3 separate regions of the Homo sapiens genome follow, and regions 1 and 2 are each linked to region 3. Evidence: promoter capture Hi-C in human tissues and cell types (Jung and others, 2019). All regions are on one chromosome and are shown on one strand. The core of a region is centred on a gene start or on the middle of the fragment in contact, and the rest is flanking DNA. Distances in the headings are between cores, read along the strand shown. Region 1 overlaps TFRC (transferrin receptor). Region 2 holds the start of SENP5 (SUMO specific peptidase 5). Region 3 holds the start of UBXN7 (UBX domain protein 7).

Region 1 (2,700 bases), core at 24-2,523, 380 kb after region 3:
ACTTCTGCAAAGTGGACAAACTCTAGGAGTCTAGAATTCCTTTAAGAAGGGAGCATTAATGGTTTAGCTGTCATTTTCTGTTTCTGCTGTCTAATTCAGAACTTAGTCAAACCTAGTCTTTTTGGAAGAGACTTGCTGTAAAACTTCCATGTATGCTCCAATGGGGAAAAGAATCTGAACACATTTAAAGTTTTCCTTTGTAAAATGAATCAGTTTCCTTTAAAAAAATTTTTTTTTTTTTTGAGACAGAGTTTCACTGTTGTTGCCCAAGCTGGAGTGCAATGGCACGGTCTCGGCTCACTGCACCCTCCACCTCCCAGGTTCAAGTGATTCTCCTGCCTTAGCCTCCCGAGTTGCTGTGATTACAGGTGCCCAACACCACGCCCGGCTCATTTTTTGTATTTTTAGTAGAAACGGAGTTTCACCATGTTAGCCAGGCCGGTCTCGAACTCCCAACCTCAAGTGATCCACCTGCCTTGGCCTCCCAAAGTGCTGGTATTACAAGCGTGAGCCGCTGTGCCTAGCCTCCTTTAGAATTTTAACCTTAGAAGATTAGCATTAGCCTGGTTCTCAGCATTCTTTTTTCCTTACTCTGCTATAGAAAGTCTGATCAGCTGGCTGGGTACAGTGGCTCATGCCTGTAATTCCAGTACTTTGGGAGGCCGAGGCAAGCGGATCACCTGAGGTCAGGAGTTCAAGACCAGCCTGACCAACATGGAGAAACCCCATCTCTACTAAAAATACAAAAATTAGCTGGGCGTGGTGGTGCATGCCTGTAATTCCAGCTGCTCAGGAGGCTGAGGCAGGAGAATTACTTGAACCCGGGAGGTGGAGGTTGCAGTGAGCTGAGATCGCGCCATTGTACTCCAGCCTGGGCAACAAGAGCGAAACTCTGTCTCAACAACAACAAAAAGCCGGGCACGGTGGCTCACACCTGTAATCCCAGCATGAATTGCTTGAACTCGGGAGGTGGAGGGTACCAGTGAGCCGAGATAGCGCTGTTGCACTCCAGTCTGGGCAACAAGAGCGAAACTCTGTGTCAAAAAAAAAAAAAAAAAAAAAAAGTCTGATCGGCATTCTTAAATTTGGGACATTTTACATTTGAAGTGAACTGTTGTTTTACTACAAAAGTCACAGGGCTGTGTAAATTGCCTTGTGTGTTGTTTTCGTAGGTGGAGTATCACTTCCTCTCTCCCTACGTATCTCCAAAAGAGTCTCCTTTCCGACATGTCTTCTGGGGCTCCGGCTCTCACACGCTGCCAGCTTTACTGGAGAACTTGAAACTGCGTAAACAAAATAACGGTGCTTTTAATGAAACGCTGTTCAGAAACCAGTTGGCTCTAGCTACTTGGACTATTCAGGGAGCTGCAAATGCCCTCTCTGGTGACGTTTGGGACATTGACAATGAGTTTTAAATGTGATACCCATAGCTTCCATGAGAACAGCAGGGTAGTCTGGTTTCTAGACTTGTGCTGATCGTGCTAAATTTTCAGTAGGGCTACAAAACCTGATGTTAAAATTCCATCCCATCATCTTGGTACTACTAGATGTCTTTAGGCAGCAGCTTTTAATACAGGGTAGATAACCTGTACTTCAAGTTAAAGTGAATAACCACTTAAAAAATGTCCATGATGGAATATTCCCCTATCTCTAGAATTTTAAGTGCTTTGTAATGGGAACTGCCTCTTTCCTGTTGTTGTTAATGAAAATGTCAGAAACCAGTTATGTGAATGATCTCTCTGAATCCTAAGGGCTGGTCTCTGCTGAAGGTTGTAAGTGGTCGCTTACTTTGAGTGATCCTCCAACTTCATTTGATGCTAAATAGGAGATACCAGGTTGAAAGACCTTCTCCAAATGAGATCTAAGCCTTTCCATAAGGAATGTAGCTGGTTTCCTCATTCCTGAAAGAAACAGTTAACTTTCAGAAGAGATGGGCTTGTTTTCTTGCCAATGAGGTCTGAAATGGAGGTCCTTCTGCTGGATAAAATGAGGTTCAACTGTTGATTGCAGGAATAAGGCCTTAATATGTTAACCTCAGTGTCATTTATGAAAAGAGGGGACCAGAAGCCAAAGACTTAGTATATTTTCTTTTCCTCTGTCCCTTCCCCCATAAGCCTCCATTTAGTTCTTTGTTATTTTTGTTTCTTCCAAAGCACATTGAAAGAGAACCAGTTTCAGGTGTTTAGTTGCAGACTCAGTTTGTCAGACTTTAAAGAATAATATGCTGCCAAATTTTGGCCAAAGTGTTAATCTTAGGGGAGAGCTTTCTGTCCTTTTGGCACTGAGATATTTATTGTTTATTTATCAGTGACAGAGTTCACTATAAATGGTGTTTTTTTAATAGAATATAATTATCGGAAGCAGTGCCTTCCATAATTATGACAGTTATACTGTCGGTTTTTTTTAAATAAAAGCAGCATCTGCTAATAAAACCCAACAGATACTGGAAGTTTTGCATTTATGGTCAACACTTAAGGGTTTTAGAAAACAGCCGTCAGCCAAATGTAATTGAATAAAGTTGAAGCTAAGATTTAGAGATGAATTAAATTTAATTAGGGGTTGCTAAGAAGCGAGCACTGACCAGATAAGAATGCTGGTTTTCCTAAATGCAGTGAATTGTGACCAAGTTATAAATCAATGTCACTTAAAGGCTGTGGTAGTACTCCTGCAAAATTTTATAGCTCAGTTTATCCAAGGTGT
Region 2 (2,700 bases), core at 37-2,536, 440 kb before region 3:
AATTGTGAGCCCAGGTGTAAATGAAGCCCCCCTCCCCAGCACCCTCCTCTACATACCAAGCTTTTCTCCTAGAAAAGATGCACTGGGAAAAAGCTATCTTGAGTAAAGATCAAAACTGATATAAGCCATCCCTCATATACCAATAATATGCCATCAATAAGCGTGAGACATGTGGATGGCTAGGAGAGAGTCTGGTTTCTTCCTGATGCTGCCCACCCAAAACAGAGACTGCAGTTAGGCTCTGACCACACGAGCGCCTGGCATCTCTAGGCAACCTTTTCCATACCAAGCTTAGTTATTCCGGGCAAAATGCAAAAAAAAAACATAAGTAGGAACCTATCATGAAGTGTCCTGGATATTCTTAAATTAAATTTAACCAGATTCTCAAAACATTTCATAACTAACGTCTGCTTTCTTCATTTAATTCTCCAAACATTATAATTTACATTGGTAGAAGAAAGTCCCACTTTACCTGCGGTGAAAAAGGTCGAAATGTCTATCTAGCATGAGATGAAAAACACTACCAGAGAGCAGGGTAGGATTTCACCTCGGCTATTCTCGCTCTAAGTCCAAAACTCCCACATCCTCTCCGCATCCCTCCACCCCGACAGAGTGGCCACAGGGCGTAGAGCGGAGGCTGATACCGCTCAGAGCAGACCGAAGGGAAAAGACGTCTCCCACCGCGCTCATGCCCAACCGGGCTCTCTGGAAAAGGGTCCCGGGGAGCGCGAGGAAAGAAACGAAGGCCGGAAGGAGGCAGAGCGGTCTAAGCAAATAAAAACCCCGGACTTCCACGGCGGCCGGAGCTGGAGGCCTGTGACAGCGGCTCCTCCTCTCAGAGCTTTCCCGGCTTCAGGAGGAGCTGGGGGGCGCCAGCTTCCCGGTGCCTGCGACGCACAGCCCGGCTGGAGCGAGAGCGCAGGGCAGCGGCCCCTCGGGACGAGCTCGCTCGCCTCCCCCGGAAAGGGAGGCTGTGGCCGAGACGGACGGCGGCCTCCAGCTCGGGCGGGGGAGGGCGGCTCGAGGCCTCCGGACCGGGCGCTGAGGTGGCGCACCGGCGCGGGAATGGCCCCAGCCAGCCCCGCCAGGCGATCGCTGAGTCCGTCACTCGTCTGCCCGCGTCCCCGCTTACCTGCTACCCTCGTTCCTGGCAGCTGCCCCGCCGCCGGCCCCGTCGCGGCAGCAGCCTGGACCGCGGACCCCGCCTTCGTCAGCTCCAAGGGAAGCCCCGCCAGCGACGAGGCGTCCGGCCTGTTCGCCGCGGCCACAGCCGCCGAGCTTCCTCTGAAGCGGCTGCCGCGACGCCGGCGCTGGCCTATCGCGTCACCTCCTCCGCGCCCTTCCGCCTGCGAGGCTGGGCCTGGCACCGCCCGCTTCCGGCGCTCCCGCCCCGCCTCCCGACCCGGGGCCGCCCCGCCCCCGCCCGTCACCGCGTCCTTAGCCCCGGCCTCCCTCAGAACGCGCTGGGATGGGAACCGCGTTCAGGAGCTGCTAAGCGCGTTTGAGACTTCAGCCCCTTCTCCAGCTTTTAACCTAAAAGGGCTAAATCAGACCGCAGCTAGTGTACACCCCTACCCTCCGCTGATCCCGTCACCCCTGCGCCGAAAGCAAAAGACCCATTCCAGCTCTGGACGTTGTGAGGCCTGGCCCAGGCGTCCGCTCTCTGGTTTTCCTATTGATCTTACCCCTGGTATTGTGATTGGCCTCTTTATCTATGTCTTACCCGCCCCAACTGTGAATGCTTTCCAAAATTATAAGCCGATGTCCTGACAGGCAAAAACATAATAATAGCAGATTTATGGCGGAAGATGAGTTCAGTTTTGAACATACTCGATCTGGAAGAATAAAGTGGAGGTGACTGCAATGGAAAACCAACAGTGCGTTGCTGAGAGCCTGTGTAGGCAGTAAGGATATGCATTGATGGTGGAGAAGATAAAAACAATACCGAAGCCAACTGCAGGATGGTTTGCTTTTAATTATCATCATGTGTCAGAAAATTCTAAACAATGTTAATGAAAAAGTACTCCTTTCCAAACAAAAGCTTTGTTTAGTCTTAGTTCTAAGCAATGGCTGCAATTACTGTTGATTTTTTTTTCTTTTTTCTTTTCTTTTTTTTTTTTTTCCAAACAGGGTCTTGCTGTCTCGCCCAAGCCGGAGTGCCGTGGCACACCCTAGGCTCGCTGTAACCTCTGCCTCCTGGGCTCAAGCGATCCTCCCACCTCATCTTCCAGGGTACCTGCGACCACAGGCTCCTGCACCACGCCCGGCTAATTTTTTATTACTATTACTATCATTATTTTTGTAGCGATGACATCTCCCTATGTTGCCCAGGCTGGTCTTGAACCCCTGAGCTCAAGTGATCCTCCCACCTGGGCCTCCCACAGTGCTCGAATTACAGGCGTGAACCACCACACCAGGCCCTCTCACTTCTTTTTAACAGTTTCTCTTTGTCAGTGATTTTTTTTTTTTTTTTAGAGGAGTGTCGCTCTGTCGCCCAGGCTGCAGTGCAGTGGCGCCATCTCGGCTCACTGCAAGCTCTGCCTCCCGGGTTCACGCCATTCTCCTGCCTCAGCCTCCTGAGTAGCTGGGACTACAGGCGTCCACCACCACGCTTGGCTAATTTTTTTTGTATTTCTTTAGTAGAGACCGGGTTTCACCAAGTTAGCCAGGATAATCTCGATCTCCTGACCTCGTGATCTG
Region 3 (2,836 bases), core at 73-2,572:
GCACCACTGCACTCCAGCCTGGGCGACAGAGCGAGACTCCCTGTCAAACAAAACAAAACAAAAAACTATACCCCTTGATTTGACATGGCTCTTTCTTAATTCTCCCCAATAGCATGTTTACTCTTAGGATGTGTCAATTCTTCAGACAGCTCATCCCATCTTTTATTGGGCCATTTTCCTATGAAGATGCAAAATATGTGGGTGGAGGTTGGAAGGTGGGAGGCTAAAACAAACGGAATCACTTGGAATCTCTTTTAACTTTATGGGCAAGGTGGGGGATTATTGGATTTGAGCGCACCCCACTCATGTAACTGTTTTGCAAAATACTTAAAATTATTCAAGGAACACACGAATATCTTTTTTTTTTTTTTTTTTTTGAGATGGATTCTTGATATATTTCCCAGTCTGGTCTCGAACTCCTTGCCTCAAGCGATTCTCCCACCTCGGCCTTCCAAAGTGCTGGGATTACAGTCATGAGCCACCGCGCCCGGCCAATAATGTTTGTTTAAAAATAAAAAGATAAATAAGAAACTCGAAGTAAGGTCCGCTTTGACCATCGTCCCGATCGTTCTCTTCTCTGGAGGTAACCGTTACCAGCGTTTTGAGCACACTTTTCCAGTCTCCTTTCTATATGTTTTCTTTCCTCTACTGCATATACAGAGTTTCTTTTTATACAAATGACGCCTCTTGGGGTCTCATTAAGACCCTAACGGGAGACGTGATGGCCAATTTATTTAAGGAAAGCAGACTAAACAATCGTTTATGAAAACCTACTGGGTGGCAACCCCGCGCTAAGTGCTTTCTTTGGCATGAAGGGTTCTGGTATTTCACTCGTCGCAATCGGTTAGCTAAGCCATTAGTTTAGAGGCTGGGGGGCGAGTACGGGGAGAGTCGCTTCAAAGCGAGGAGGTAGGGTTTGCATTTTGATGGGACCTGCAGGAAACCTAATAGAGTGCGGTACAACCGCAAAACAGAAAAATGCTGTCATCGGCAGTTGGCTCTGTCAATAAAGCTTGCGAAGCTGAAATGCGAAGAACTATCTGCCGAGACCGAAGCTTCCTTCGGAATCTAGGAATCGACACCGCGCCTGCGAGGCTAGCCTTGGAGCCCGGAGAGGAAGGCACCAGCAATGGCAAAAAGGATGCACTGAGCAGGCAGCAACCGAGCAGCCAACCCGAGAGCTGGGAGCGCGCGGGCCCGGTCGGAAAATGCGCCTGCGCAGACCGCTGGGGACGGGAGGGGCGGGGCTCGAGGGGCGGTCAATGCGCCTGCGCACACCGCACGGCGAAGTGGGGGAGGGCAGTCCGTGTGTGTCTGTGTTGTTGTTCGGCGGCGGCGGCGGCGGTAAGATGGCTGCCCACGGGGGCTCCGCGGCGTCCTCGGCGCTGAAGGGGTTAATTCAACAGTTCACCACCATTACCGGTAAGAGACGCGGTTACCGGAAGGTGGAGAGTGGGGTCCGGAGCGGGCAGCGGGTCTGCCCCGGGCTTCCCCTTACCTTCAGGCATTCCTCCTTCGGGCTTTACCCACAGCTGCCGTCCTCCCTCCTGAGGAAGAGGCGACGACGGCGTCGGGGTCTCCGGGTTCAGGCGGGAGACAGCCCCCCCCCGCTCCCGATACCCTCGTTCTCTGTCTCCTAGTAGCGTGGAGGGAGATCCCCCAACCCCCCGCCAGCCCAGACCTGGGAATGGGCCGAGTCCGTCCGCCCCCGCCGGCCCGGGGACCCGGGGGCGGGAGGAGTAGGGGGCCGCACCCGGGCCACCGCCCTCCTCCTCCTCCTTCATCATCTTCCCTTCTCTGTGCAGCCCTGCGGTGCGGTGCATCTCCTCACCTCCTTTTTTCCTTTCTTCCCCGGCCAGGTCATTCTGCCCCGGTCCCCGGCCTGCCCTTCCCCTTTCTGGGCCCCTCGGAGCCATCGCCGTGGCCCTGGCGGGTTCGGGCCCTCCCGCCTTCACGGCAAGGCCGGTGGGTTCGGCCGTGCCTTTACACTTCACGGGGGACAGGCCGCCAGAAGCGGGGGGTGCTGAGGAGGACCTCAGGGACTGAGGCTTTGAGGGAAGAATGAGGGGGAACCCCCAAGCTGAATAGGGGAGGCCTGGAAGAATCCAGGGTGGCGTTTCCCACCTCCCCATAATAAAATCATAAAGACGGAGACGATGGCGCCGGGGCCTCCTGCTGATAAGATAGGGATGGCGGCAGAAACTTCTTTGAGAGAAAATCTGTTTCTGGGTGTCGGTATCCCCGAAACCCTAGGCCTAGGTTCTCTCCCTTTGGACCCCTGCGAAGGACACACGCAGATCCTCTTACCGCCTGGAGGAAAGGCCCTAAAGCCATTCTATGAATTCTCTCTGTCTTGTTTCTCTCTGATGGTGCTGAACTTTTCTTGCATGAGTTATTAGAGGGCGGAGCAAATGATGAAGTTCTCTGTGGAGTGATTTGAGAGAAGAGTACTCCAATGTGCCTGAGTGTAATTTTGCCGTTCTAGTTTGTCGTTTTGGAAGGAGGTCAGAATGTTAGTTCCCTCTCAACGGATCTATACTTTATCTCGTAATTTGTTAGATGCGGAGAATGTTTCCACTGTTAATGTTCCTAGAGTTTAACGTGCAATATCTGGTTAAGTAAAATTTTATATTGTTTTAACTACTACAGGTTGTATACTAGTTACCGTTTTATATTAAAGCAAGTTTTATTTTTTTGCTTTGCAATGATAACGAGATATTTGACGCATTGTTATCTAGCTTGTGGGCATGGAACATCAGGTCAAAGTAAAGTAAAATTTGCAATAAAATTGGGGTGAGGAGTTGCATGATAACTTCTCTTAATATTTTTGAACTTT

The links. Contacts are between HindIII fragments. The study calls those that stand out against the background at their distance.
Region 1: a fragment that was not itself captured here is called in contact with the fragment with the promoter of UBXN7 in region 3 in 1 of the 25 tissues and cell types used here (small bowel).
Region 2: the fragment with the promoter of SENP5 here is called in contact with the fragment with the promoter of UBXN7 in region 3 in 1 of the 25 tissues and cell types used here (dorsolateral prefrontal cortex).

The regions. Positions count from the first base shown.
Region 1 is chr3:196,050,657-196,053,356 of GRCh38, reverse strand. TFRC (transferrin receptor) reads left to right here. Exons shown (of 19, transcript NM_001128148.3): 19 at 1,173-2,700. The coding sequence ends at 1,415. Among named protein-coding and RNA genes, the nearest start is that of TFRC, 30 kb to the left of the region's middle. The HindIII fragment of the contact is 8,502 bases long and covers 1-2,700 here.
Region 2 is chr3:196,866,506-196,869,205 of GRCh38, reverse strand. It overlaps SENP5 (SUMO specific peptidase 5), which reads right to left and starts at 1,286. Exons shown (of 10, transcript NM_152699.5): 1 at 1,133-1,286. RefSeq lists an enhancer at 1-278 and a silencer at 930-1,509. The HindIII fragment of the contact is 4,194 bases long and covers 1-2,700 here.
Region 3 is chr3:196,430,913-196,433,748 of GRCh38, reverse strand. It overlaps UBXN7 (UBX domain protein 7), which reads left to right and starts at 1,322. Exons shown (of 11, transcript NM_015562.2): 1 at 1,322-1,422. The coding sequence starts at 1,350. UBXN7-AS1 (UBXN7 antisense RNA 1) reads right to left here and starts at 2,364. Exons shown (of 2, transcript NR_046745.1): 1 at 2,308-2,364; 2 at 715-1,547. RefSeq lists enhancers at 1,005-1,084, 1,017-1,790, 2,165-2,214, 1,791-2,565 and silencers at 1,125-1,374, 1,395-1,454. The HindIII fragment of the contact is 10,299 bases long and covers 1-2,836 here.